Regions from separate parts of the Homo sapiens genome. Here region 2 is linked to region 1. The links are contacts of gene promoters, found by promoter capture Hi-C in blood cells and fetal thymus (Javierre and others, 2016). All regions are on one chromosome and are shown on one strand. The core of a region is centred on a gene start or on the middle of the fragment in contact, and the rest is flanking DNA. Distances in the headings are between cores, read along the strand shown. Region 1 holds the start of CCNA2 (cyclin A2). Region 2 overlaps ANKRD50 (ankyrin repeat domain containing 50).

Region 1 (2,866 bases), core at 64-2,563:
CTGGACTTGGCTCAGTGCTATAAATTGTAGCCAGGAAATAAGAAGAGCTTACACAGAGTCGGGGGATCTTAATTAGACATGCTGTAACCAGTGGAGCTATTCAGCGTGCTTCAAGTGAAGAGTGCAGAAATAGTGATGCCATCTTAGATTTTCCTACACTAGTATCTTCTAGATCTCTTTTTATCATATATGACATTAAGGCTACAGAAGTTTTGTGCATTAATCTTAATTCATATTTATTAATTTCAAGGGAATATTGAAAGGTTTTAAAATGGCATACAGATAATGGAAAATAAGCTTTATGTTTCAAGAAGGGCAGACTCACGAATTTTTTAGAAAACAGTGCTTCTTAATGATATGCTATTATACTTATTAGTTATGTGCAAGCTTTGTATATTCTTATATTTATATATAAATATAAAAATTTGTTAAAGGCACGTATAGTTAAGAGAGTTTTATTTTAATAAGGTCATATTGTTTTTACTATGTTTAAAAAACTTTACTTCTGAAAGGAACATAATTATATCTAGGTCACTAGAACGTCATTGTGTTTTTTGTTGGTTGCCACAGCTTGGGGAAAAATAGAAAAAAATTAATGACTGTATTTGAATATTTTGTAATGCACTGCTATTTATTATATATATCAACAGTAGTTCAAGGTGCCATCTTAAATTAATTGCATCTTCATTAGGAAAAATAAAAAGCATAAAACACAATTTCTGGTTACTATGAATAAACGCCTAAATGTTAAGATGACATTACAGTCTTGACACTTGAGTACTGTATTACTATGTGAGCTCCGTGTTAAATAATTTATGCACATTATTTAATCCTAACAACCATATGACTGTAGTTATTAGTCCCTATTAACACATAAGAAAACGGAGAATCGGAGATACTGAAAAACGTGCCCCAGATTTTAGACCTTTGGAAAAAGTCACTTAAGCTAACTAGACGTCCCAGAGCTAAAGGCTGGGCAACCCAAATGATAGTCGCCAAAGTTTAATTCCGTTTAATTCCCTAAAAGGCTTAGAGTCAGCCTTCGGACAGCCTCGCTCACTAGGTGGCTCAGCTTAAAATAATCGGAAGCGTCGGGCCCTAAATCCTACCTCTCCCCGCCCCGCGCAGGCGTTTTCTCCCGCCCCAGCCAGTTTGTTTCTCCCTCCTGCCCCGCCCCTGCTCAGTTTCCTTTGGTTTACCCTTCACTCGCCTGCGACCCTGTCGCCTTGAATGACGTCAAGGCCGCGAGCGCTTTCATTGGTCCATTTCAATAGTCGCGGGATACTTGAACTGCAAGAACAGCCGCCGCTCCGGCGGGCTGCTCGCTGCATCTCTGGGCGTCTTTGGCTCGCCACGCTGGGCAGTGCCTGCCTGCGCCTTTCGCAACCTCCTCGGCCCTGCGTGGTCTCGAGCTGGGTGAGCGAGCGGGCGGGCTGGTAGGCTGGCCTGGGCTGCGACCGGCGGCTACGACTATTCTTTGGCCGGGTCGGTGCGAGTGGTCGGCTGGGCAGAGTGCACGCTGCTTGGCGCCGCAGGCTGATCCCGCCGTCCACTCCCGGGAGCAGTGATGTTGGGCAACTCTGCGCCGGGGCCTGCGACCCGCGAGGCGGGCTCGGCGCTGCTAGCATTGCAGCAGACGGCGCTCCAAGAGGACCAGGAGAATATCAACCCGGAAAAGGCAGCGCCCGTCCAACAACCGCGGACCCGGGCCGCGCTGGCGGTACTGAAGTCCGGGAACCCGCGGGGTCTAGCGCAGCAGCAGAGGCCGAAGACGAGACGGGTAAAGGGATGCGGGATATCTGCAGGAGGGTGGGTCGAGCAGGGTTTGGCATTGGCTTAGCAGGCAGAGAAGAGTGGCGAGAAGGCATGTCCTGGGCTTTTGGAAGGGGGCCAGGGTCTGGAGTGCAGTTGGTGCTGGTGTGTGGTTTGCCACAGTAGGAGTTCTCCCATATTAGCATCAGGACCCCGCCAACACTGTGTGTATGCTGCCGGTCTGCTCTCTATAGGGGGCATCTGCCTGTACATAATGGGGTCAAACCAAGCTCTAAAACGTGTAGTCTTCGCTCAGCTCCGCGCCTTTCTCTCCACTTTTAAACCCCAGGCACTGCTGTAGGACTCTGACCCCTATCCTCCTCACGCTTAAGAGATGACCTCTACTTTAGAAAAGCGTGTACAAAATACTTTGCTTTTGGCAAATTCCGCCATTTTAGCCGGATTTGCTCTGTTGCTCCACCCTCGGGCGACAGTGGTGAACCAACAATTTTTTTGCTGTCTTTCCTAAACTTGTCACGTATTGGCCTGTCACCCGACCCTTCTTGTGGCCCTGATAAGTTTTGCATAATTCCACCTAGTGTTATCTATTGATAGCCTTTGTGGGAATGCCTGTGACAAATGGGAACATCCCTTCTCTTTTGAATACTGAAACTCTTCTTTGTCCCAGAAAGTTTAATTCCTGATAGAGTATTTGGGAGAAAAAGCAAAGGCCAACACCCATAAGAGAAAGAATGCAAGACTAGTAGGCTCAAAGCCAGTTATTAATTTTTTTTTAGGTTGCACCCCTTAAGGATCTTCCTGTAAATGATGAGCATGTCACCGTTCCTCCTTGGAAAGCAAACAGTAAACAGCCTGCGTTCACCATTCATGTGGATGAAGCAGAAAAAGAAGCTCAGAAGAAGCCAGCTGAATCTCAAAAAATAGAGCGTGAAGATGCCCTGGCTTTTAATTCAGCCATTAGTTTACCTGGACCCAGAAAACCATTGGTCCCTCTTGATTATCCAATGGATGGTAGTTTTGGTAAGTTTTAAGGAAAATCTGTGTGGAATTACGGTAATTATAATTATTAGATGATATTAATGATTTGCATTTT
Region 2 (2,765 bases), core at 115-2,614, 2.9 Mb before region 1:
CTAGTTACTCTGTCTTCAGAGTCAACTTAATATACAAGTTATGTCATAATGGATGGAAAGACCTGTGTTGATGTATCCAGACTCTAGCAAATGAAGATAAAAAACCCGTTATGACTAATCCTTGGGAAGAGAAAGTCTGCAAAATGGCTCAAACCAGTTTACTGCAAGGGAAGCAGTTTTACTGTAGGGAGTGGGTTTTCCACAAGCTTCAGCATTGCCTCCAGGAGAAAAGTAACTGCTGCAATAGTGCTGTCAATGCACCATCACTTGTAATGAATTCTGGGAATAATGCTAGTGGTGTCTCTGGAAAGGGAGCTGCCTGGGGTGTGTTGTTGGTAGGAGGGCCTGGCAGTGGCAAGACGGCCCTATGTACTGAACTCTTATGGCCAAGTTCACCTGCAAGTTTGCAGAGAGGTTTACATCGCCAAGCTTTGGCCTTTCATTTCTGCAAAGCCCAGGACTCTGATACTTTGTGTGTTGGAGGGTTTATTAGAGGTCTAGTAGCCCAGATCTGCCGCAGTGGACTACTCCAAGGATATGAGGACAAGCTAAGGGATCCAGCAGTCCAAAGCCTCTTACAGCCTGGGGAGTGCGAGAGAAACCCAGCCGAAGCATTTAAAAGGTAACAATAAAAATGTCATGGTGTTCAGATTTCTATGCTGAAATTAAATTAATTTTTAGTTGTAGTTTTTTGTTTTAACTTTGTGGGTTACTTTTACTGGTGCTGTACATTTGGCCTTAATCTGAAGTTATGAGTATACCTGTTTACTTTGAATATCAAAGGAAGTAAAATTTAGGTTTTGGTATTGCACAGCATATGGATTAAAATGGATTAAAAGTGTATCTTAATTTTACTTAATAACATAATGTTACTTACATTGCCTATAAATGGTAAGGGAAATTTGTTCTTATGGTAGAGAAGCACATTTAGCTGTCTGGAAATAGGTTACATTTTCAGAGGGTGAACTGAACTTAGAGTAATTATCAGTATAGCATCTAGTATCTTTTTATTTTTTTCCTTATAGTAGTAGTATTTTTTTAAGTAAGAAAGGTTTTCTTTAAAGGAGATTATTGGCCACTGAGAATCTGAAGAAAATTTGCTGATGAGTTTTGGGATTTATTCTCCTATTAACTAACTAATTGAAAAACTGGTATTTAGAAGTATGTGAATTTATAAAATAGCGAACATTTGGGATCATCTTACTACTTTTACTTTTAGTGAGTGGTACAAAGAAAGTGTTTTTTCCTAACTTCAGCAAAGCTTTTTTTCCATGGTAAATGGATTGGTCCAGGAAGTGAGCAAGTTGCTTTCCAGAGTGGTTTCAGATTCAAATCTGTTCAAGAAAATATAATTCCTTGAAAACATTTTTTTTTGCATATCATGCCTCTGCTCATTGTAAAAGTAGCAGGCAAATTGTTAGTTTGTGCTTCACTTCTGCTTGAATTACCCATTTTGCCATAAGCTTTTTCTCTACAATAACATTCTTAGCGGGCAAAAGTTTGTTCTCCAAAGATTCTGGTATACTGTGCACTGGAGGTTTGTGTGTGTGTGTGTGTGTGGCTCTCTTCTGCTTGAGTGTGTTTCTAGGAGAGATTTGAATCACTCTAAAAAGAGTGATGTTTGTTTTTATGATATCCTCAAATCTAATGGGGTGAAATCTATACATTTTGAAAGTAATATTGAAAATATTTAATAGTAATTACAGTAAACAGTAAGTGTCAGTCATTATTCTAAGTGCTTTACAAATATTAGATCATTTAATCCTCATAATAATCCTGTGAGGTAGTTACTACTCCCATTTTATAGATGAGGAAACTAAGGTACAGAGAGGCTAAATAAATTGTTCAAGGTTACAGACTAGTAAATGGCAGGGCTGAGATTTTAAATGTGTGTGTGTGTATGTGTGTGTGTGTGTGTGTGTGTGTGTGTATGTGTTAGTAATCTTAGAAATTCTCTGGGGGACTTGATGGGAAGAGGAGGGGTTTAGAAGGTTATGTATGGCAAAGCTGGAGAACAGGAGTTGTGTCACAGTGTGGTTTGAGTGTGGTTTTCAGATTACCCATATAGTGATAGAGGGAGTGGTATTCTAGAATGAGAGTTAGGGATGGTACAGAATTCAAATATGGGAGGAATTTATTAAAGTCAGCCAAAGGGATGTATCTTTGAGAGGTGTGATATTCTTGTAGACTCTTTAATATGTAAATTTAGTCCAATAAAACTAAAGGCAAATCTATTATCTTTTGTTGTTAGCCATCAAAGTCAGCGTTAAAACTGTTGTATCATTCTTAAATTAATGAGGAAATCTGTTAGTTGATGCCTGTGGCATGTGAGATGCAAGGTTTGATGGAGAGTGTTCAATATGGAATCACTGTACAGAATAAATAATGTAGTCTTTAATATAAAACTATACCTTTTAATAGAATTAAAACTGTACATAAGCAACTCTTTTCTTCTTACTGCTTTTTCTGAAGATACTAGTGGCAGAGCAGAATTTTCATTTCTTTGTGATAAGTAATTTCATAAGCTATTTAGGTTTATTGACACCTACCAATAACTTTCAAAGAGCTTAGTCTGAGGTGAACTTAATCTGATGTAACCAAGGTATGTAATTTATAATTTATTGAAATTCATATGTAAATTTCTGATACCTGAATGTTGAATGTTTAAAAATCATGTCTGATTACTGTATTTTTGATATATTCTGATCCTAAGCATAGCTTTCTCTATGGTATCATAGATTTTCCTGAAAAATAATTCTTTTATT

What was found. The method cuts DNA at HindIII sites, captures the fragments that hold promoters and counts their contacts. A CHiCAGO score of 5 or more calls a contact.
Region 2: a fragment that was not itself captured here is called in contact with the fragment with the promoter of CCNA2 in region 1 in 1 of 17 cell types (fetal thymus); the score reaches 5.7 in fetal thymus.

Annotation. Positions count from the first base shown.
Region 1 is chr4:121,822,330-121,825,195 of GRCh38, reverse strand. CCNA2 (cyclin A2) reads left to right here and starts at 1,313. Exons shown (of 8, transcript NM_001237.5): 1 at 1,313-1,780; 2 at 2,550-2,793. The coding sequence starts at 1,568. BBS7 (Bardet-Biedl syndrome 7) reads left to right here. Exons shown (of 19, transcript NM_176824.3): 19 at 1-867. RefSeq lists enhancers at 1,465-1,534, 1,725-1,774. The HindIII fragment of the contact is 5,182 bases long and covers 390-2,866 here.
Region 2 is chr4:124,707,857-124,710,621 of GRCh38, reverse strand. ANKRD50 (ankyrin repeat domain containing 50) reads left to right here. Exons shown (of 5, transcript NM_020337.3): 2 at 1-622. The coding sequence starts at 111. Among named protein-coding and RNA genes, the nearest start is that of ANKRD50, 3.5 kb to the left of the region's middle. The HindIII fragment of the contact is 202 bases long and covers 1,264-1,465 here.